Regions from separate parts of the Homo sapiens genome. Here all the other regions are linked to region 6. The links are contacts of gene promoters, found by promoter capture Hi-C in blood cells and fetal thymus (Javierre and others, 2016). All regions are on one chromosome and are shown on one strand. Each heading gives the region's core, a stretch centred on a gene start or on the middle of the fragment in contact. The rest is flanking DNA. Distances are from core to core; before and after follow the strand shown. Region 1 overlaps SMIM36 (small integral membrane protein 36). Region 2 has its middle 55 kb from the start of MMD. Region 3 overlaps HLF (HLF transcription factor, PAR bZIP family member). Region 4 has its middle 77 kb from the start of HLF. Region 5 overlaps HLF (HLF transcription factor, PAR bZIP family member). Region 6 holds the start of COX11 (cytochrome c oxidase copper chaperone COX11). Region 7 overlaps MMD (monocyte to macrophage differentiation associated).

Region 1 (3,315 bases), core at 350-2,849, 480 kb after region 6:
TCTTCTTCTAGGGCAGCTACTTCATGCCAATATGCAGTAGGATAGGGCAAAAGGTTGTGTTTTTCTTCTGTAACTTAAAGGAAATAATGTATTTCAAAGGATCCTGAGAAAGACCATATTTATTCTTGAATTCTTGTGGAATGTAAGTGGTATAAGGGCTTCTGGGGAAGCCAACTGTAGTAAGTCCCTCTCTTTAGAAAGCAAATGTCTAGACAGCTGGAGGGACCTGTCTATCCAGGGTCATAAACAAGTTGGTTTAGAGTAGGGACTAAAATCTTGATCACTTTACATCTAGCTAAGTATGTTCTTTTGTGCCTTACAGATCAACTGGTGTAAAGCTGATTTTCCAAACTTCGAGTTTTAAGGGAAATGGATAGGATACTCTTTTTTAAAATTATTTTTATTATTTTATGACAGAGTCTTGCTCTGACGCCCAGGCTGGAGTGCAGTGGCGCAATCTAGGCTCACTGCAACCTCCACCTCCCCAGTTCAAGTGATTCTCGTGCTTCGGCCTCCCAAATAGCTGGGACTACAGAATCATGCTGCCACGCCCAGCTCATTTTTTTGTATCTTTAGTAGAGAGGGGGTTTCGCCATGTTGGCTAGGCTGGCCTGGAACTCCTGACATCAAGTGACCTGCCCGCCTTGGTCTCCCAAAATGCTGGGATTACAGGAGTGAGGCACTGCGCCTGGCCCAGGATACTCTTACTAAAGGGTTTCTGGAAGTTTCTTTTGGGAGCAGCACTCATTGAGTAACCGTCTACTCTGTGCAAAGCCCAATATTGAGCACTATGAAGGAGAAATGAAAGAAACAAAAGTCATGGAATAGGGACCCTGGAAAAAGGAAAAATGGATACCTGAAAATATTATGCGGGTTTATTTGGGTTGGGGTGATCACTGATAGATAGATGCAATGGATTGAAGGATGATCCCCCAAAAGACACGCCCATGTCCTTATCTCCAGAAACTGTGACTATTATTTTATGTTGTAAAATATTGAACATGACTTTATATGACATAAGATATGATTAAGTTAAATCTTGACAGTAGGAGTTTTTCCTGGAGTACCCAGATGGACCCTAAATGCAATCACAAGTATGAAGAGAGGCAGGAGAAGTTTTGAGAGAGAAGAAGAGGCAGCAGTATGACCAGGTAGGTTAAGATTTCAGTGATGTGATCACAAGCCAAGGAACTCCTGGAACCACCAAAAGGTAGAAGAGGCAAGCAATAGATTTTCTCCTGCAGCCTTCGGAGGGAGTACAGCCCCTCTGACACCTTGATTTCATACTCCTGGCTTCTAGAATATGAAAGAAAAAAAATTTCTGTTGTTTTAAGACACTCATTGTGTGCTAAATTGTTACAGCAGTCAAGTGAAAACTAACAGCATATCTAATCTTTGACCTTTTACATTTCCTCGTTGCTTTCTCTCAAGGGGTGTGGGGCAAATTCCTTATTCTTTTCTATCTAGTTCTGCTGCCATCAGAAGCATAGAACATGGATCTCACAGTGTTGCAAGTAGATCACTTAGTCTCCTTTGGTTTCATTTCACAGAGAACATGGTGGAGGCTCAGAGAAGTGAAGCGACTTGCCCACATTTACACAGTTGCTGAGTGTGAGCCCAGACGTGGAACCCGGGTGCAATACCCAGATAGTACTCCTTGCTTTCTGCTTACAGCCTAGAGAGAGGGAACTTGCAGCTGAGTTAGGAGACAGAGGCTCACAAGCACAAGGCAATACTGGCAGAGCGTAGACAACAGGTTTAGGCACCCGTGAGTCTACACAGTAACACTGGAGAGTCCACCAACTTTACCTCCAAGAAGACATCTCTAATCTGCCCACTTCTTTCCATCTCCTTTGCCAGCAACTCTCTGCTTAAAGATCCATAGTGGCTTCTTTTTTTTTTGAGACGGAGTCTCGCTCTGTCACCGAGGCTGAAGTGCAGTGGCACGATCATGGCTCACTGCAACCTCCGCCTCCCGAGTTCAAGCAATTCTCCTGCCTCAGCCTCTTGAGTAGCTGGAATTACAGGCATGCGCCACCACGCCTGGCTAATTTTTGTATTTTTAGTAGATATGGGGTTTCACCATGTTGGTCAGGCTGGTCTCGAACTCCTGACCTCATAATCCGCTCTCCTCAGCCTCCCAAAGTGCTGGGATTACAGGTGTGAGCCACTGTGCCCAGCCCCTAATGGCTTCTTATCATCCATAGACTAAGACCCTAATTCCAGATGGTGGCATAACAGGACCCTATATGATCCAATACTCGCACCTTCTCCAACCTCATTTTCTACCAGTGTCTCCATCCATCACCCTCCTTCAGCACCTCCAGCTGGCTGACCTTGGGTTGCCCTTGAAGCAGGCCAAGATCTTTCTTGTCTTTGTGTCTTTGCACTTGCTCTTGTCTGCCTGGAATACTTTCCCCATGGCTCTTCCTGTGGCTGACTTATGTTTTATCTTCAAGTTCCAGCTCACATAGCTCCCCACAGAGGCTTTGAAGTGGCTGTTTCCTCCATATGTTTCTTATCACAGGCTGAAACAGTCTTGTTTATTTGTTGAGTGTCTTCTCTTGTCACTAGATTAAAAATGCTATGAAAATTCTTGAGAAAGATACACCCTCTTTGTACCTGGCACAGTGCCTGACAGTGTAGGTACTTAATAAATATCTGTTGAATGAATGAATTTACCAGTTTTCCTAAACTGGGCTACCTAAGGAATTTACTATATATTTCCTGCACAAAAGATTTAAGACTCTTTCTTTCCTCCTGAACAATGCATATCAAAGTCTCTGAAAAATTCTAAAGAAAACTAAATTTAGACTGTATGCAGGGGCTGATGCCTGTAATCCTAGCATTTTGGGAGGCCAAGGCAGGAGGACCACTTGAGGCCAGGAGTTCGAGACCAGTCTGGGCAGCATAGTGAGACCTTGTCGCCACAAAAAATAAAAAGATTTTAAAAATTAGACAGGCAAGGTGGTGGGTGCCCTCAGCAACTTGGGAGGCTGAGGAGGGAGGATCACTTGAGCCCAGGAGTTTGAGGCTGCAGTAAGCTATGATTGGGCCACTGTACTCCAGCCTGGGTGACAGCATAAGACTCAATCTCTACAAAAAAAAAAAAAAAAAAAAAAGGAAACACTTTTAATAAGCCTGGCATATTTGACCCACATATGGTTTTAATAAGCCCAAGTGTATTTGGCCATACATCCTATTGTTCAGGAGTTTGTGTAAATGTTCCTGAATATAGATGTTCCCCAGAACAGTTAGAGAACTCTTGGTGTAGAAACTGGTAACAGCTGAATCCAGTTAAATCACCAGTTCATT
Region 2 (3,218 bases), core at 458-2,957, 400 kb after region 6:
TGGCTTATAAACAGCAGACATTTATTTCTCATAATTCTAGAGGCTGGGAAATCCAAGATCAAGATGCCAACAGATTCAGTGTCTGTAGAGGCCCATTCCTCATAGATGGCACTGTCTTGCTGGGTCCTCAGGTGGTAGAAAGGACAGACAAGCTCCTCAGGCCTCTGTTGTAAGTATCCTCATCCCATGCATGAAGGCTCTGCTCTCATGATCTAATCACCTTCCAAAGGCTCCAGCTCTTAATACTATCTTTCCAGCCAGGTGTGGCGGCTCACTCCTGTAATCCCAACACTTTGGGAGGCCTACGAGGGTAGATCATGAAGTCAGGAGTTTGAGACCAGCCTGGCCAATATGGTGAAACCTGGTCTCTACTAAAAATACAAAAATTGGCTGGACACAGTGGTGTGCACCTGTATTCCCACCTACTCGGGAGGCTGAGGCAGGAGAATCACTTGAACCTGGGAAGGGGAGGTTGCAGTGAGCAAGACTGCATCAGTGCACTCCAGCCTGGGTGATAGAGCGAGACTACATCTCAAAAGAACAAAAGCAAAAACAAAAACAACTATCTTTCCTTGGGGGTTAGGATATCAACATATGAATTCGGGGGGAAAACAAACATTCAGACCATAACAGAGGGCACACAATTAGCTTGGATTTCAACTAAGGCCTGGAGGTATAGGTAATATTTAGAGAAGTGTTTACAGATAAAGGTGAGTTTGCTGATCACTTGGTAGGTTCTCCGTGGCCGAGTGGTAGAGGTTAGGAAGGAGGTATGGAACAGGCTTAGTTAGATAAGCTTTTTTCAAAAACAGCACAGCATACCTGGTCATTTGGTAAATAATATAACATTTGTTAACGAGATACATTTATATGTATATAAAATAATCTCCTTCAACTCCTTAATAAAATAGCTACAGAGACTCTCATGGGCCTCTGATTTTATTTTTGGCATTTTTAATGGTTTCCTTTGTTCTTTTATACGTCTTGGGCCCTCGTTGGTGGAATTTGTGGCTTCGATTCTGTTCAGCCCACCTTGAAAACAAACCATTAATAAATACATTTGGGCCTCCTTTTGTGCCTCGCAGAAACAAACAAACAAAATGTCTATTTCATTAGCACACCAGGATCTGGGGAAGGGTGAATTCTCTGGAAAGAAAAGTACAGGAGGACTAGGAGAGATGTCAGGCATGTCCCACAAATTCAATTTATTCTTCTTTCCAGACCACATCTAAATCAAAGCAGCTGTACTTGATAAGCCTCTCTGGTTAAGATGCTGAAAGTGATATTCAGATTAAAGGTAATGTGAGGAAGACTTTCTGTCTCAGGTGGAGAAGGGTTTTGTTCGGGAAAAAACAGCAGGCAAATCAAAGAAAGTACTGAGGCTCCCAAAGAAAATGAGAACAGAAGAGGGTGAGAGAGAAAATGGCTTAAATGAACAAAAGAAAGATTGTGCTTGTCTACCCAGGTCTGGCTGTGCTCATCAATTGAATCAGAACTGTGGCTGGCCATCTGCTGCTCTGAATACATGACAACAAGCCACTTGCAATGACCCAGCTTTTGACTGCTTTAGCAATGGCATTTCTTGAGATCAAAGAGACCCAGCTCATCCCAGGAAACACTTGGAGCCATTCACTGTGACCTTATTTTAAAGATATTATATTGTAAATTTAATGAAATAATATATCCAGCCTGTCTAGCATATAGGAAGGCTATTTTCCTTCTCCTTCCATTGCTACAAAAACACAGTGAAACAATGGACAATACACATTGTCCTCAGTAATTGGGTTTCTCCCCCTCTGAATTATAAAATTACTATTACAATAGTACTGAAATTATTATTGCTATTTTCAGTGCTTTAAATCACTCTTTTGCATGGGGTGGAATTTCATGTGAATGGAGTCTTTCTTTGGCCCCTATCCCATAAGGTTTAATTAGGGAAGTAGACTCACCTGGAAGCTGGTCTCATAGCAATAATGATAATTACCTTTATTGAGATGCTATTCTGGGTAGATCAGGCACCATGCTCCACATACATTATCACCATTTTCCAGCAAGTCTGTGAGAAAGGTATCAGTGTTCCAATTTTATAGATGAAGAAATTGAAGCTCTGGGGTTTCTGCTATTTGGTCAAGCCTATTTTATTCATAATCAAATTTAGAAATAAAGGCTTTGTTGAACTTCTTCTGTATCATTGATGAAACAGCTAACCATTGATTCAAATCTTCTGAAGGATCTTGAAGCCCTATGAAACTGTTACCTAAACCTTGGTCACTGTGATCAAACACAAGAGGCAGATGGGTAAAAACGACAAGTGGAAATTCATGCCTATCTTCTTTTTCTTGAACACTAATGATTTTGATCAAAACAGAGCTTCACTACAGGAATCTGTCCTGGGGTTTGTTTCCTTCTCATACTGCACTGATTCTCTGGGCAATCTCTCTCATGCTTAGGGCCAACTAAATTCTGATGACTTTCAAATCTTTAATTATAGTGTGATCTGTTTCCTGAGTTCCAGATCCATAGATATACAATTACTCTTGAGAGATCGCCTCCTAGGAGTTCCAAAGGGACCTCAAACTCAATATATCCCAAACTAAACCTATCCTACTCTTTCCCAAATAAGCTTCTCCTCTTTTTAGTCCCTGTCTACTCAGATAGTCAGAGCAGGAACCTGGAAGTCTTCATAGACTTCTCCCTCTCTTGATATATCCGATTTGTCACCAAGTATTATAAGGAAAGGTTTTCAGGGTGAGGTATCCAAACTACCACCAGCAGCGGCAGTGTCTGGAAACTAGTTAGTAATGAAAATGTTTAGGACCCCACCCGATTTCTCCTAAATCAGACTCTCTGGGGGTGAGGCCAGGGAATCTGCATCTTAAGCCCTCCAGGGAATCTGATGCATGCTCTAATTGTCCTTATCTTTCTCTAATTATCCCATTCCTAAAGCTCCTGTTTTAAGGCAGGCCCTCATTATCTTATGCCTAAACTATTACAATCATTTCCCAACTAGCGTTCCTTTCTCTAGCCTTAGATCGCACCAATCTATCCTCTTTCCTACCAGAACGTTCTCTCTGAAATGAAAATTGGATCATGTCTCTGTCCTACATAAACTCCTTCACTGTTCTCCCAAATAAGGGAGAAATATAATGTGGACCACATATGTAATATTTAATAGAAATATAATGTGGACCAAATATGTAATATTATGTGGCTACTAG
Region 3 (3,228 bases), core at 322-2,821, 320 kb after region 6:
CCGTATTGCTGATATGAAGAAAGTTTGAGTGTCCTGGATAGAAGATTAAACCATCCACAACATTCCCTTAAGCCAAAGCCTAATCCAGAGCCAGGGCCTAACTCTCTTCAATTCTGTGAAGGCTGAGAGAGGTAAGGAAGCTACAGAAGAAAGGTTTGAGCTAGCAGAGGTTGGTTCATGAGGTTTAAGGAAAGAAGCCATCTCTATAACAAAAAGGTGCAAGGTGAAGCACCAAGAAATGATGTAGACACTGCAGCAAATTTTCCAAAAGATCTAGCTAAGATCATTGATGAAGGTGGCTATACTAAACAACAGAGTTTCAATATAGACTACACAGCCTTATATTGGAAGAAGACACCATGTAAAAGTTATAGCTGGAGATAAATCCATGCCTGGCATCGAAGGACAGGCTGACTTTTGTTAGTGGGCAATGTAGTGGGTGACTTTAAGTTGAAGCCAGTGCTCATTCACTGTTCCAAAAATCCTAGGGTCTTTGAGAATTATACTAAATCTACTCTTCCTGTGCTCTGTAAATGGAACAGCAAAGCCTGGATAACAGCACATCTGTTTACAGCATGGTTTGCTGAATATTTTGAGCCCACTGTTAAGACCTACTGCTCAGGAAAAAAAATCCTTTCAAAATATTACTGCTTATTGGCAGTGTACCTGTTATCCAAAAACTCTGATGGAGATGTACAAGAAGATTAATGTTATTTTCATGCCTGCTAACACATTTATTCTTCAGCCTATGGATCAAGGAATAATTTTGACTGTCAAATCTCATTACTTAAGAAATTTACTTTTTAAGACAATAGCTGCCATTGATAGTGATTCCTTTGATAGATCTAGGCAAAGTAAATCAAAAGCCTTCTGAAAGGATTCACCACTCTAGAAGCCGTTAAAAACATTCATGATTCATGGGAAGGGACATTAATTAACTCCAACATAAACTGAAGTTAGTAGGAGTTGATTGCAACCCTTATAGTGGATGACTTTGAGGACTTCAAGGTTTCAGTGGAGGAAATAACTTTAGATGTGGCGGAAATAGCAAGAGATCTAGAATTAGAAGTAGAACTTGAAGATGTGACTGAATTGCTGCAATCTCATGATAAAACTTGAATGGATGAGGAATTGTTTCTTGCAGATGAACAAAGGAAGTGCTTTCCTGAGATGGAATCTACTCCTAGTGATGATGCTGTGAACATTGTTGAAATGCCAGCAAAGGATTTAGAATATTACATAAACTTAGTTGGTATAGCAGTGGCAGGGTTTGAGAGGATCGACTCCAATTTTGAAAGAGGTTCTACTGTGAGTAAAATGCTATCAAATAACACCGCGTGCTACAGAAAAATGTTTCCTGAAAGGAAGAGTCAATTGATGCAGCAAACTTCATTGTCGTGTTATTTTAAGAAACTGCCACAACCACCCCAACCTTCAGCAAACACCACCCTGATCGATTAGTAGCCACCAACATTAAGGCAAGACCCATCATAAGTAAAAATGGCCCACTAAAGGCTCAGGTGATCTTTACCATTGTTTAGCAATATAGTATTCTTAAGGCATGTACATTGTTTTTAGTCATAATGGTATTACACACTTAATAGATTACAGTATAGCATAAACATAAATTTTATATGCACTGGGAAACCAAAAAAAAAATGATGTGACTTGCTTTATTGGATTCTTAGCTTTATTGCAGTGGTCTAGAACCGGTCCTGCAATATCTGTGAGGTATGCCTTTATATCCAAAGGAATAGAAATCAGTCTTTCAAAGAGATACCGGCATTCCATGTTTATTGCAGCACTATTCACAGTAGCCAAGGAATGGAATCAACCTAAGTGTCCATCAGTGGGTGAATGGACAAAGAAAATATGGCATACATACACAATGGAATACTATTCCACCATAAAAAAGAATGAAATTCTATCACTTGCAGCAACATAGATGGAATTGGAGGTCATTTATGTTAAGTGAAATAAGCCATTCACAGGAAGACAAATATTGTATGTTCTTATTCAAATTGGGAGCTAAAAAGGTTGATCTCATGGAGGTAGACAGTAGAATGATGGTTACCAGAGGCTGGGAAGGTTAGCGGGGGCTGGGATGTGGGATTTAGAGAGGTTAGTTAAGAGGTACAAAAACACAGACGAAATAAGTTCAAGTGTTCAATAGCTACAGTAGGGTGACTATAGTTAACAAGGATTTATTGTATATTTCAGAATACATAGAAGATTTGAAATGGTCCCTTCACAAAGAAATGATCAATGATCCCAGTTACTCTGATTTGATCATTACACATTATATGCATGTATCAAAATATCCCATGTACTATATTAATATATACATTTTTTTAATTAAGATTTGAGGTGCTATATGTGCCTGAGGAGTTATAGGGGATGCCGGTGGAACGACCATTACATGTGGCAGCTGGACTGGGCAACGGCCGATCGCCACTGTGCTCTGAGGAGAGAAGGCAGAGCTTCCCCCTTTATCTGCTGGCTGGTGAAGTCCTGAGAACCGGGCAGTCAGCTAAGCACCAAGTTTTCTCTGACTACAGAGCTCCTATCAAACGGATGGGTAGAAAAGGAATGTTGTCATAATAGCTAACCCTTCTTTAGTGCTTCTTATAGTCTGGGCACTGGACTGAGGTTTATATGTGTTATATCATTAAAACTCAATCTCTGGGAACGACTGTTAGTACTTGGTAGGTATACTATTATTATTGTCGTTTTACAGATGAGAAAACTGAGGCCCAGAGAAAGTGAGCAAAATGGTGCTGGGGGCGATTAATAGGTGGCAGGGCTGGAACATGAAGCCACAGTCTGGCACCAAAGCCCATTCATGGAGCCCCAACTCAATGGGCTGCTTCTCAGTAGAAGGCTTTGCCTTGTGGAAGGTAGTAGAATGTCTAAAATCATCAGAACACCTGTGTGGATGGTACAACACGGTGACAGATATGTACCAGGGACCTAGATGTGGAGGGAGTGAGGAGGAAAGGAGCAACATATGCACCTCTGGGGAGGCCCTAAGGTCTCCTCAGCCAATTCCTAGGGAATTTAATTTTAAAGGACACAGAGAGGGTAGTTTTTAACACAGGTTTTACTTTTAAGTCATGAGGGATGACTTTCTAAGCCACAGTTCCTTCTGATAACGGTCTTAAAAGAGAAGCACCATGAAGTGATAAACACATCAGTCCAGGAAGATTTAGAGACAGCCTAGTAGAGGAG
Region 4 (3,289 bases), core at 725-3,224, 370 kb after region 6:
TTAGAACTAGCAAGGAGGGCCAAGGCAGACTCCAGGGTTCTTCACCAGCCTAAGATGCCTTGGGAAGCAATTGCCAGTGGTTCCATCAACAGCTTCCTTTGAAAATTCAGACCCTTCAACCTGTTCAGTGCCAACTATGCATTCCTGGTTGCACCCCCAAACTCTTGCTACATGCATATGGGTGCATGCGTGCACACACAGGGACACACACATGCACACACGGACACACCTCCTCTTGGACTGTTGAAAAGGCTGGGTTTATATAATAAAACTTCCTCTGCCACATAGACAAAAATAACCCTGGCATCCCTTTCTGGATGGATTTTAATTAGGAAAGACACAGCATTTAAATTATGCTTATTACTTTCAGTTGCTTGTACAGGCTGTGGATTTCGGAAAAGGCAATGGGAATCATGTGAGCTGGATTTCTCTAACAGGATGACTCTGAGAGGGAAAAATTGCCAAGGGCATTTTAAATCTTTCTCCTCTTCTAGACAGCCTGGCTGAGGAAAAAGGTCCATGTTCTAACATCATTATCACTAACATCTCTGAGTGCCTACTCCATGCCAGAACCCTGGGTAACAAGCATTTTATTTATTTGTTCATTTTTTTTTTTTTTTTTGAGACAGAGTCTCGCTCTGTCACCCAGGCTGGAGTGCAGTGGCACGATCTCAGCTCACTGCAAGCCCCACCTCCCGAGTTCAGGTAATTCTCCTGCCTCAGCCTCCTGAGTAGCTGGGATTACAAGCCTGTGCCACCTCCTCTGGCTAATTTTTGTATTTTTAGTAGAGACAGGGTTTTGCAATGTCGGCCAGACTGGTCTCGAACTCCTGGCCTCAAGTAATCTGCCCACCGTGGCCTCCCAAAGTGCTGAGATTACAAGCGTGAGCCACCTCACCTGGCCTAACAAGCTTTTTAAATGCCTTACCTTAATTAGCCTCAAGAATTCGAGTTTGACCAATAGACCCCATTGGGGACTATCCCTTTCTAGGGGATTCCAGGGACATACCCTTATTATGAATCAGGGGGTTCCTCCCTGAAGCTACAATAGTGACTGGCTGCTAACAGCATGTATGCAATGAATTGATGTATTAGGTTGGTGCGAAAGTAATTGTGGTTTTTGCCTTTGAAAGTAATAGCAAAAACCGCGATTACTTTTGCACCAACCTATACAAGCAAATGAATGACTGAATGTGGTGGGTGTGCTCAGAATGAATCAGATGCAGAAGAATTCTGTGTGGGAATAGAGTTCTAGCCACAGACCTTGCTGCCGGGAGTACTAGATAGATAGTATATGACTCCATTCTCCAATGAGTGGCTTTTTGGGGAGATTTAAAACTTGGAAGAACATAGAAAATTTCTCTCCCCTGCTTCTCTCTCCCAAATCTTTATAGGCATCTTAATGAGGATAAACTTTCAGGCCACAACTATGATTTTAGGCAATTATTTAGCCCATCTGGCTTTCCATTTCTTCTGCGGCTATAACACCAATATCTACCACAGAGAGTTTTCTAACAATGATTAAAGATCCAATATGTAGGCCGGGCGTGGTGGCTCACGCCTGTAATCCCAGCATTTTGGGAGGCCGAGGTGGGTGGATCACGAGGTCAGGAGATCAAGACCATCCTGGCTAACATGGTGAAACCCCATCTCTACTAAAAATACAAAAAATTAGCTGGGCGTGATGGTGGGCGCCTGTAGTCCCAGCTACTCGGGAGGCTGAGGCAGGAGAATGGCGTGAAACCGGGAGGCAGAGCTTGCAGTGAGCCGAGATTGCACCACTGCACTCCAGCCTAGGCGACAGAGCGAGACTCCGTCTCCAAAAAAAAAAGATCCAATATGTAGCTAAGCAGACCTTCTTCCCCATTTTATTGCTAAAGAATTTGGGGCTCAGGTATATTAAATGACCTTTAGCATACTTACTCACTTGATCATTCAACAACTTATTGATGATCTGTTATGCTTACACCCTATTCTAGATGCTCTAGTGATTGGGACAGTCGATGAGGGGAACAGGGAAGGCATGTAACAAACTAACAAAATAATTTCAAATTACAATAAATAAATACCATGAAAAGAGTAAAAGAAAGCAGAATAAAAAAGCTGTGATGGAGTAAGTGGGGAAGCTCTAGATGAAATGATCAGAAAAGACCTCTTTAAAAAGAAGAAAAAACAGTTATCTTTGAAACTAAGCCCTGACTTGTAAGAGGAAGGAGCCATGCCTAGGTCTTGGGGGAATATAGTTCAGTCAACAAAAACTGCAGATGCAAAAGTCCTGAGGCAGAAATGACATTCCTGTGATGAAGGGACAGACAGAAGGTCAGAGAGCTTAGACAGTGAGGAGAGGGGTTCAGGATAGGGCTAGAGAGGTAGGCAGACGTCGGAATATGGAAGGTATTACAGGATTAGTCGAGGAGTTTGGATTTCATCCTAAGTGCAGCAAAACTATTTGAAAATTTTTAGCAGGGGAGTGGCATGCTCTGATTTACATTTTAAAAAGATCCCTCTGGCTGCCATATGGAGAATAAATTATGATGAGGTATACATGGAAGTTAAGTGAAGGCAGAGGTGATGGTAGCCAGGACTACGGGGTAGCAACACATGGAAAGGCTTGGACCCAGGGCACATGTAAGGAAACCAGGACTAGAACCCAGACCTCTATAGCATCTGCCTCTCTGGCCTGCCATGTGCCATATAAATATTCTTGCTTTTCTTTTTTTAAATAAATTTCCCATTTAACAATGCTTTCTGCAGAGCCATAAGTTCACTGGAAACTGCTCAAATTGACACTCAAGCAAGAATAGCATGCCTGTGTGATAATAATGCATTCATCAGCATTCCTGAGTCCACTCCAGGAGTGCTGGATGCGAAAGGGGCCCAAGAGAGTCCCCCCAACAAGGGCAGGAAAAGGAATGTTGGTAGGACTCCAGGGCTAATAGAAGGTGTGGGGCTTCTCATCCCAGAAGGAGGAGGTCTGAGGAATACATACTCGGGGTTATATCCAGAAAGGAAGAGGCCCATTCCCACTTAAGTTCAACAAGCTTGCTAGCAGCACAAGGAGAGAGGCCATGGCTGGAGGGTCGTGGAGAAAGGAGTTCGGTGGGAGCCTGGGCCTTCAGATTGACTGAGAGGGAAAGCGCCCTCTACTTTTTAAACTTGCAAGGAAACTCTTAAAAACTCCTCTCTTTTCAGCAGTTTGTGACTTTCATGTGAGGAGGAGAAGTTACAAACATTTCCAGGTATTCTGTTCCTCAAATGCCCTGTGTTTCTCCATCATTGTATTTTGGAC
Region 5 (3,344 bases), core at 526-3,025, 340 kb after region 6:
AATGTCTACATAACGTAGGAGGACTAGGTAGGCAGAGAGCAGAGGAAGAATGCTTTAGGTAGAGAGGAAACTAAATACAAAGGCCTGGGTGGGATCACATTCAGGGGACGCAAGGAGCAGAAGGAAGGCCAGTGTGGCCAAGTGTGTGAGTGAGGTAGAGCCGTGGATCTGATCATATGTGGCAATGGGAAGCCTTGGGAGGGTTTGATATGGAGATGTGACCCACACGGGTCTGCATGTTTAGAATTATCACAGTGTACCGCTGTGGAGACGTGGGAGATAGAAAAGGGATAATGGTTAAAAGTTGCAGTAGTTCAGAGGACAGACAGTGCTGGCTTAGACAAGGGGAATAGTCTGTTTATTTGATTTACTTTCAAGTATCTCTGAACTATTATCTGTATTTTGTATATGTGTTTATATAGAGACCATTTATTGCACACTTTCCGGGTACTACAGATTGTGCTAAGCACTTTGTATGTATTATCTAGTTCATTTTTCACATAGAATCAGGCATAGTAATCTCCTTTTACACATAAGGGAATTGAAACTCAGGTAGGTTAAGAAAAGAAGGGGGAAAAAGTCAACGATAGTCCCTTTCCCCAATACAGACCTTATTAGGATTTAGAGGGGCATTTTTTGGGGGTCATTTATTTACAAAGGCCCAAGTTTATAACATACAGGTGACAGAATCAGCATTCAGACCCAGGTCTGACTCACTTCACAGCGTAAAACGACTGTCCTGTACAAATTTAAATCCTGCTATAATGTTATTGTGGGTGTAAACACTCTCCCCCTATGCAATAACTCAGCTTATAGGTCAGTCTCCATTGCAATGAGAATGTTTACCAGACAATCACAGAAACTCACCGTACACAAATAAAGGCTTATTGTTCACTCATCTGTAATTGCTATGGGTTGCTCAGGTGGCTCTGCTGATCTTGGCCGGACTCACATATCTAGAGTTCAGGTGATTTAAGCTGACCTAGGCTGGCCTCTTCTTTCATTTTCCAGCAGGCTAGACTGGGCATGTTTATGGTAATGACAGAAGTGCTACAGAAAAGGGGCAGAAACATGCAAAGCCTCTTTAGGCCCAGCCTCAGAACTAACACTATCATTTCTGCCACATTCTGTTGGCCAGTGCAAGTCAGAGACCAGCCCAGATGCAAGAGGTAGGGAAATAGGCTCTGCCTGGAAGTGCAGGTCCCATGGAATAGGACATGAATGGGTTAGGAATGAGCCTTTGGCCATCAGGACGTTAGTGTTAAGCTTTTGCAGAAAGGACTTGTTGGACAAATAACAGATTCCTGCTGCGGGAATGGAGACCAGCTAATATGGCCTGAGTCCCGAAAGCCCATATCCTTAGGCTGTATTTGTGAGGTTTTAATTTAATCTTTGTATATATCGTGAGCACTCTTCGTTGACCTTATAGTGTTGCTATCATCTCCTAAGTTGATTGGCTCCCTGAATGTAAAAGGATTTTCAGAGGCAGGCATGGTTTGTAGCAAAGTCAGCTGTAATCCCTGATGATGGTATCATCATCGAGGGATGCCAAGAGGGTAAAAGCACTATTTCAGATTATGGCTACGTGGGATCCAGGAAGTCATGACAAGTGAACAGACCCTAAACTGGTGATGAGGAGGAGGGCAGAGGTGAGCAGGAGGGAAAGATTCGGCACCAAACTTTGAATCACTAGGAGTTTCACTCATCAGCTCTAAAGGAAACCCTTTGGCCAAAATAAAAATTGTCTTCTCTTTCCTCAGCCTTAATTGATAGAGGATAATGTTATCAGCTGGCTAATGCTCATCAGTGATCAACATTAGACTACTGTGTTTTGACGTTACTGCTGCAAATCTCCTGCTTTATTAACTGCCTGAATGAGGAGCACATCAGAAAGATTGGAGGTGTTGCAATTAGCCTTTAGGATGAAATAATAAGTAACACTATAATTTGTGACTTTGATGCAGACATCAATTTAAAACATAAACCACTGACTAGAGAAGAGATAAAGACAGAGTGCTGCTGTTCCCCTTCATTGATGGCTGCTTGCTAATGAGCTAATTGAACACAAGCTGCTAAATTCTTGCTAAAATACGAAAGAATATGAAATATCCTGTTTCCAGTTATACTATTTGGAGGTTTAGCCTTGCCTAATCTGTGACAAAAGTAGAGGCCAACTTTGGGTTTGAAGGTAACTTCTATTCTTTTTCCAGATTTCTTTAAGCCCTTTGTTCCACCCTTTCCTCCAGAAACCCTCCTTGGTTCTTCTGGAAGTGACTTTCAGCAAGAAGCTTTTAGAAAGAAAAACAAAAAAAACGAAAAACAATGTTCCAGTAACTGCAGAGGCTACATGATGGGGTTGATCTTGTCCACTATGGATCTTTTAAATAAAGCTTTGGAAATACCAAGCTCAGACTTAACAAATACAGGAGAAAAAATGGCATGATTATCTCAATAAATAAATATCAAAAGGCATTTAAGAGAACTTAATACATTATTTCTGGTTTTAAAAATTATTAGTAAAACAAGGTTGGAAGAATTGGAACTGCCTTACTTTGTCAAGTTGTATCTACTAAGATACTAGAACAAGCCTTTATATTGAAGGATCTGAAGAATTAAAAGCATATTCCTTTAAAGTCTGGGACAAGCAGTGATCATTAGTCTCAGTCTCTCTTTCTTCTCATTGTCTTGCAGAAACCGGCTAATGCAGTGAGACTGAAAATTATTAAAAAGAAAGTAGGAATTATAAACATAGAAAGGATGCCACCTCTGTCTATAGAGGCAGAAGATGAGATTGTTCACCTAAAAACTAAGAGATGTTAGAACTGTTAGAACTATTAGAACTAATAAGAAAGTAAAGTGGCTGGATATAAACCAGTAACTTTTAAAACCAGTAGCTTCCTATATAGCAGCAGTAACCGCTTAGGAAATATAATAGGGTAATATACCCTAGTAACAACTCTTATAATACATTTAAGGAATAAACTGAAATGTGAAAGGCTAAAATAAAGAAAACTATAAAACTAAACTGATACATGTTTTTAAAAAAGCCCACAAAAAATAAAAATGGAGAGCATACTGTGGGTGTATTCAATATTTTAAAGATAGTTGTCCTCAAATTTACCTGTGAAATTGTAATTCAAAAATGCCAAATATTATTATATTTAAAACGGTAACTTTAAATATAACTTAACTAATGTATTCTGAAGTTTACCTAGAAGAGTATATGTATAAAAGTACCTTAGAAAATTTTCTAAAAAGAACAAATAACCAATAAACATGCAAGATGTTCAGTGTCACCAGTAACAAGGGAAATGGAAATTATAACAATAGTAAGACCAGCCTGG
Region 6 (3,314 bases), core at 528-3,027:
GAAAGGTAAATTGATTTCCACGGGCATGGTGGCTCACGCCTGTAATCCCAGCACTTTGGGAGGCCAAGGCAGGAGGGTCACTTGAGCCCAGGAGTTGAGACCAGCCTGAGCAACATAGGGAGACCTCGTCTCTACAAATTTAAATAAATAAACGTGCGCGCGCGCGCACACACACACACACACACACACACACACACGGAAAGAGTGAACTCCAGCTAAGAATACCAGTCATGGTGTTAAAAAAACAATTCCCAAACTTTCCTGCACGCTGGAATCACCTAAAACATACTTGACAATTACTGATGCCTGGTTCCCACTGTGGCCTTGTGATAAAATGGGTAATGTGTGTGGATTTTTAGAAGCTGTCCAGGTGATTCCCAATGTTGCTGTACAATGAATTTTGGGAGCCACTATCTTAAACACTTACTGAATCACTTGTGGCATGATTTTTAAACCGAAATTCCTGTCCCTACCCTAGACTTCCTAACCAGAATCTCTGGGGTAGGGGATCCCTGGAACGTGTATTTAACGTTAAGCTCCATAGGTGATCCTAATGGCCAGCCAAAGCTGCAAATTATTAGCTAAGAACAAAGGAGAAATCTCTAAAATACGTGAAACTTGTCTTTGCCTGTGGTTCTCAAAACTTGCCCTCAAAATCAACTACAGGACTTAACTAAAATATAGAGTGCTGGTCCCACTCCCCTTCTTCTCCCCGCCCCACCCCCCCACCCCGTGTTTCTGACTCAGTCCTGGAGTCGGGCCCTAGAATTTGCACTTTTAACAGGTTCCCGGGTGATGCTGATGCTGCCGGTCCTGGGCGCCACACTCCCAGAACCGTTGCAATGTACTTAACAGTTTCCAGGTTAAGTACATTACAGTTATATATTAACAGGGGTGGGGCGAGAGAGCCTCAAAGGCCTAATTCATGCCTCTTTGTACGGAGGAACTGCTAATCCCAGTTTAAGCCCAAGAAACACGAGTAGTCCAATTTCCAGAGTTACCCTTGGCACATAAACCACATGTGGTTTGCAGAGTGAATGTATGAATAATACATTTTAAAAGCGTGTGTGCGCAGGAGGGTAAGGCAGACTGCTAGATACCCGGTTAGAGGCTGCGGACCTTTTTTTTTTTTTTTGGCGAGGTGCAGTTCATAGATCAGGGGTTTCACTCTGCAGCATGGTATAAGCACAATCACTAAGAACTGGATGCTACTTGCAGTTTTGTCACCAATTTCTTTGGTGACTTTGGGTGTTAAGTGACTGTTTTGAACCTCTCTCCTCTTAGGTAGATAATATCGGAAACCTCTTCCACCTACGACCCGCAGAGCGAGGGCTTGTCCCGGGATTTGTCTTGCACCCCCACCTCTCGCGTCTGCGCCACCCTGCGGGCGGCGCCGGCCCCTACCTGGCAATAGAGCCGATAAAGGGGTACGGCAGCGTAGGACGCCCCCAGCATGCCCACGGCGACAGCGGCCACGTAAGTGAGGGTCGTCTTGTTCTGCCGCCGCCGCTCCTCCTCCTGCGCGCGTGTGAAAGGGTTCGAGCTCTTAGGCCGCCGCGGCGGCTGCAATGCTGGATGCCGGGCTCGAAGGCTGCAGCGCTTCCATGTCCCAAGCCACCTCAGTCCTCTCTCGGCACCTCCTGTCCCACTCCACTCTGGCCTAAGAAACGGCTCTACCCTCTCTGCAGCCCTGGTTGGAGACCCAGGGTGGATCCAGCGCCAGCCACAGAAAGGAACGCACCTCCATCCAGGACGCCAGAGCCCTCCCATAACCCTCTGAACTAACACCCACCCGCCTCTCAGGGACGAGAGGTCAAATCTCGCGAGGCGTGCTCCGTCTCGCGAGATCTGGGTTGAGCCTGCCGCTGCCTTGGCTACCAGGCTCCTCAGGTGGCAGCGCTTGCAGTCGGGCTACGGAGGCCGGGTTGCCAGATTACGGGTAAGTTTGCGTTTTGCTTTGTGACTGTTACTCCCACTTCGCTTCTCGCCAGAACGTCTCTTAACATTTAGGAAAATGCGTTTCGCCCGTCCGCGTGCAAGCTTGCCATCACTTGGGGTTGCGCCTGTGATCTTTATTTAAACTCCACCAGCCTTTGTCTCGACCCGGCAGCCCCGGCGACGCTCTCCCGCGGTCTTTTCTCCTGGGGTCCCTTGGCCGCTGGCTCCTGTGCTCACTGCCCTGGACTTAGTTCAAGTATCACCTCTCTCAGGAAGCCTTGCTGTGTTAACCGCAGCCCTCATGGGCACCCACGACACCTGCATTTTCTCAGCCCGTGGGCAGTCGGCTTCCCCTGCTCTGATGCCCCTTACAACTTGCCCAGTGGAAAGCACCACAGCTGGAGCAGGAGGGAGGCTGTCACGCTGAAGTTTGTTCTGGAGAGAGTGACCAGGATAGGAGGGCCATTTAAGGAGAGACTGAAAGAAACGAACCCCGTGGGAGGATGTAATAGCTTTCTTCAGTTGTCCCACAGGACGAACTCGAGGGGGGCAGACAGCATAGCGGATTTTACTGTGTTAGAAGGAAGCATCTTTCTAGAAACTATAAAATAGCAGTTAAGAGCTCAGGTTCTGAGGTTAGGGGGTTCTGGATTTTTACCCGGGTCCTCACCATGGCCCTGTGCCCTTAGGTCAGTTACTTGTCCTCTAAGACCTGGTGTCCTTACTTGTAAAATGGAAATCAGAACAGTAAATGAATAATATTCATATAACGTCTTTCATGATGACTGAGGCATAGTAAGAATGTAGTTAAAAGTTAGGCTGTATTTCTACTTGCTACGTGGCCATTTCTAATGGCCAGAGCAGGTATAATTATCCCCACTATGTGGATGAGGAACTTGGAGGCCTGAGAAATTTTAACTAGTCATTCGACATTTTATTTATTTATTGCCCTCTCAACTGTGGGCCTGACACCAATCGACCTGCTGGCACTATAGCACAGAACAAGTCGGGAGATCACTTCAGTGATGGAGTGTCCTTTCTGCTGAGGGACTCAGAAAATAATCAAGTAACAGTTACCGAAATAAGGGAATTTCAGATAACAATCAGTGCAGTGAAGACAATGTAATAACATAGTATGATTGACAGTCATGAGAAGCGGTAGTAAAGTAAGGACGTTTTGAAGAGGTGACATTTGAGTTTAGATCTGAACGATGATAAGGAGCTACCTACTCAATAACAATTCCAGGCCAAGCAAAGGCCCAGGGGAAGGAAAGAGATAGAATGATTGAAGAACAGAAAGAAGGCCACTGTGTTCCCAACATAGCAGAGTGGAAAGTGGTAGGAAATGGGGTCAGAACAGGTAACAAAGGCCTGGT
Region 7 (3,319 bases), core at 604-3,103, 440 kb after region 6:
TACTGTTTCTAATGACTACAATAGATGATTGCAAAATATAAGCTTCTGAGTTTTTAAAACTGGATTATGTCTTGTAGAAGAAAGCTAATGTTTCTTTAATTAAGAGTTTCAAAGCAACAAAAGATTATATTTGATCAGCACCAAAAAGGCAGAAAGATCAAAGGCAATGAACAGGATACTAGGTATTTTAAATGGTTCTCTTACTCAGCAAAAGAAATGATAAACACACTTGCTATATAGTAGCTACTGCACTTGAGGTGAATTGAAGACAAATGGCTTAAGTTTCAAAAACAGGCTGGGTGCGGTGGCTCACGCCTGTAATCCCAGCACTTTGGGAGGCTGAGGTGGGCAGATCACTTGAGGTCAGGAGTTTGAGACCAGCCTGGGTAACATGGCGAAACCTCGTCTCTACTAAAAATAGAAAAACTAGCCAGGCATGGTGGCACATGCCTGTAGCCCCAGCTACTCAAAGGCTGAGACAGGAGAATCACTTGAAACTGGGAGGCAGAGGTTGCAGTGAGCTGAGATCACACCTCTGTACCCCAGGCTTGGTGACAGAGTGAGACTCTGTCTCAAAAAACCAACAAACAAAGAAGCCAGATGTGGTGGCAGGCACCTATAATCCCAGCTACTCGAGAGGCTGAGGCAGGAGAATCGCTTGAACCTGGGAGGTGGAGGTTGCATGAGCTGAGACCACGGGCCACTGCCACTGTACTCCAGCCTGGGCAACATAGTGAGACTCTGTCTCAAAACAAACAAACAAACAAACAAACAAAAATGGCCAAGCATGGTGGCTCATGACTGTAATCCCAACACTTTGGGAGGCAGAGGCGGGCAGATCACTTGGGGTCGGAGTTCGATACCAACCTGGTATCGACAACATGGTGAAACCCTATCTCCACCAAAAAATACAAAAATTAGCTCGGTGTGGTGGCACACGCCTGTAGTCCCAGCTACTTGGGAGAAAGAGGTGGGAGAATCACTTGAATCTGAGAGGTGGAGGTTGCAGTGAGCTGCATGGCCAACACAGTGAAATCCCGTCTCCCCCCAAAAATACAAAAATTAGCTGGGTGTGGTGGCACATGTCTGTAGTCCCAGCTACTTGGGAGAATGAGGTGTGAGAATCACTTGAACCCAGGAGGCAGAGATTGTAGTGAGCTGAGATCACGCCACTGCATTCCAGCCTGGGAGACAGAGTGAGACCCTGTCTCAAAAAATAAAAAAATAGGCCGGGCACGGTGGCTCACGCCTGTAATCCCAGCACTTTGGGAGATCAAGGTGGGCAGATCACTTGAGGTCAGGAGTTCCTGACCAGCCTGGCCAACATGGTGAAACCCCGTCTCTACTAAAAATACAAAAATTAGCCAGGCATGGTAGCACGTGCCTGTAATCCCAGTTACTCAGGAGGCTGAGGCAGGAGAATCTCTTAAACTCGGGAGGCAGAGGTTGCAGTGAGCCGAGATTGTGAGACTCCATCTCAAAATAAATAAATAAATAAATAAATAAATAAATAAATAAATAAATAAATAAGCTTGCTTTCCTCATACATATTTACAGCATTTCCACTTGAATAATTCAATTTTCTAGTGTTCTGAACAATAGCAGAGGTATAGGGAAACAATATGGAGAGCAAAGGTTACAGATTTCAAGAGTGAGCAAGCTATCTGCACACAAGTTCATAGCACTTCTTGAACAATCCAATACCCAGATATTATAAACAGCAGCAATATTCTCCCCTTCAAATATGCAATCTGACCCAAGTACATCAAATGGGGAAAAAAATGCATGCATGTATGTGTTCAGGAGGAGGGAAGGTGGTGTACACATGAGGGCTGAGGGTGGGGACAAGAGGGAGAAAGGAAAGGAGGAGTGAGGAATTCTAATCATAAAATCACTACCTTCGAAAATAGGAAGACTGTATCTTACCATGGAGCATAAGAAGCAGCAATGAAGAAATAGATAACCATTCTATCACACATGTGAAAACAATGCTCCACTGTCCTAGCGAGGGGGAAAAAAAAGTAAATTTGTCAGAAAGTGTTCAGATGGGAAGTACGGGTTATCACTCCACTATGTTGCAATTTCCATTCTTGTTCTAGTTCTCATGGCCTTTACACTTGTTCTTCCAAGGTTACACAGATTTTTGTTGCTGTTAATGTTATGAAGTCACGAGTAAAAGCTTTCTGTTATTTTTTAGGTTGCACATACAATAGATTCTCTCAGCATATATAAGACATAGGGACAGGGCCCCATGATAGTTAGAAAGCCTGAAGTGGTTAAAGCAAACAAACAAAATCTGTCTTTTTCTGATGTTTTCCATTTCTTTTGGATCCCCTCTAACAGAAAAATGAAGTTCCTGGAGGGCAGACCACCTCCCCGCAACCTGCCCCAGCTCCTATCAGTGCAGGGCAAAGTCCTGATGTTCAGTAAACACTCCCTGAGCTGAAATCACATTCTTTGTGTCTTTTTAGAAGGTATTTACAGTTTTTACTTCAAATATCCTGGTGTGGACAGTAAATAGTAATAAAGGAAATTCAGAAACTAACTTAGGAAAAACAGTAACAAAAACAAAAAATGGCACATTTACTACAAAAGCATAGCCACCTGTATTTCTAAGCAAGTTCCTCCTTCCAAAACTGAAAAGTCAGAGGTATATGTACAAAGAGTTTGGTTCACTGAGGTCTATTCATAAAATGGATTAGATGGAATTTGCCCTTTACTGAGGTAATTTAAAAGTACAAATTTGTAATATCATCTTGAATCTATTTTCAGTGTCCAAGTAGGTATAACTATAATTTGAGGGAACGCTAGTATTAGACTTTCCTCCCCCTACACGTAACATTGACCAAAGCAAATAATAAAGACTTGTGTGAGTAAGTGAAAAAACATACCCCATAAAGCCTGGGCATGGTGGCTCACAGCAATAATCACAGCACTTTGGGAGGCTGAGGCAGGTGGATCACTTGAGGTCAGGAATTTGAGACCAGCCTGGCCAACACAGTGAAACACTGTCTCTACTAAAAATACAAAAATTAGCCAGGTGTGGTGGCGCACGCCTGTAGTCCAAGCTACTCGGATGGCTGAAGCACAAGAATCACTTGAACCCAGGAGGCGGAGGTGGCAGTGAGCTGAGATCGCACCACTGCACTACAGTCTGGGCAACAGAGTGATAGTCTGTCTCAAAAAAAACAAAAATGTATTCCATAAATATATATACCTACCGTGTATCCACAAAAATTAAAAATAAAAAAAAAGTTTTAAAGGAATGAAAAATACATTTGTGAGAAAGAATGGGTTTCAGTCTACTAGTCATCAGAAG

Evidence for each region. Contacts are between HindIII fragments. The CHiCAGO score rates a contact against its expected background, and 5 or more counts as called.
Region 1: a fragment that was not itself captured here is called in contact with the fragment with the promoter of COX11 in region 6 in 1 of 17 cell types (activated CD4 T cells); the score reaches 6.9 in activated CD4 T cells.
Region 2: a contact is called between a fragment that was not itself captured here and the fragment with the promoter of COX11 in region 6, in 8 of 17 cell types (total CD8 T cells, fetal thymus, non-activated CD4 T cells and 5 more). The highest score is 9.1, in total CD8 T cells.
Region 3: a contact is called between a fragment that was not itself captured here and the fragment with the promoter of COX11 in region 6, in 9 of 17 cell types (total CD4 T cells, total B cells, naive CD4 T cells and 6 more). The highest score is 10.0, in total CD4 T cells.
Region 4: a contact is called between a fragment that was not itself captured here and the fragment with the promoter of COX11 in region 6, in 4 of 17 cell types (activated CD4 T cells, fetal thymus, erythroblasts and 1 more). The highest score is 6.3, in activated CD4 T cells.
Region 5: a fragment that was not itself captured here is called in contact with the fragment with the promoter of COX11 in region 6 in 3 of 17 cell types (total CD4 T cells, activated CD4 T cells and total CD8 T cells); the score reaches 7.2 in total CD4 T cells.
Region 7: a fragment that was not itself captured here is called in contact with the fragment with the promoter of COX11 in region 6 in 10 of 17 cell types (total CD4 T cells, naive CD8 T cells, activated CD4 T cells and 7 more); the score reaches 10.5 in total CD4 T cells.

The regions. Positions count from the first base shown.
Region 1 is chr17:55,449,003-55,452,317 of GRCh38, forward strand. It overlaps SMIM36 (small integral membrane protein 36), which reads right to left. Exons shown (of 5, transcript NM_001395421.2): 5 at 854-1,296. Among named protein-coding and RNA genes, the nearest start is that of MMD, 29 kb to the left of the region's middle. The HindIII fragment of the contact is 7,338 bases long and covers 1-3,315 here.
Region 2 is chr17:55,364,888-55,368,105 of GRCh38, forward strand. No RefSeq gene overlaps it. Among named protein-coding and RNA genes, the nearest start is that of MMD, 55 kb to the right of the region's middle. The HindIII fragment of the contact is 1,827 bases long and covers 795-2,621 here.
Region 3 is chr17:55,290,903-55,294,130 of GRCh38, forward strand. The region is part of intron 2 of HLF (HLF transcription factor, PAR bZIP family member); the gene reads left to right. Among named protein-coding and RNA genes, the nearest start is that of HLF, 28 kb to the left of the region's middle. The HindIII fragment of the contact is 3,456 bases long and covers 1-3,228 here.
Region 4 is chr17:55,340,504-55,343,792 of GRCh38, forward strand. No RefSeq gene overlaps it. Among named protein-coding and RNA genes, the nearest start is that of HLF, 77 kb to the left of the region's middle. RefSeq lists a silencer at 997-1,216. The HindIII fragment of the contact is 2,130 bases long and covers 910-3,039 here.
Region 5 is chr17:55,307,925-55,311,268 of GRCh38, forward strand. The region is part of intron 2 of HLF (HLF transcription factor, PAR bZIP family member); the gene reads left to right. Among named protein-coding and RNA genes, the nearest start is that of HLF, 45 kb to the left of the region's middle. The HindIII fragment of the contact is 1,022 bases long and covers 1,265-2,286 here.
Region 6 is chr17:54,966,877-54,970,190 of GRCh38, forward strand. COX11 (cytochrome c oxidase copper chaperone COX11) reads right to left here and starts at 1,778. Exons shown (of 4, transcript NM_004375.5): 1 at 1,405-1,778. The coding sequence starts at 1,770. It overlaps STXBP4 (syntaxin binding protein 4), which reads left to right and starts at 1,889. Exons shown (of 18, transcript NM_178509.6): 1 at 1,889-1,939. RefSeq lists enhancers at 848-1,797, 1,647-1,706, 1,717-1,796, 1,798-2,746, 1,977-2,076 and 1 more. The HindIII fragment of the contact is 10,915 bases long and covers 1-2,038 here.
Region 7 is chr17:55,405,820-55,409,138 of GRCh38, forward strand. It overlaps MMD (monocyte to macrophage differentiation associated), which reads right to left. Exons shown (of 7, transcript NM_012329.3): 4 at 1,927-2,001. Among named protein-coding and RNA genes, the nearest start is that of MMD, 14 kb to the right of the region's middle. The HindIII fragment of the contact is 648 bases long and covers 1,530-2,177 here.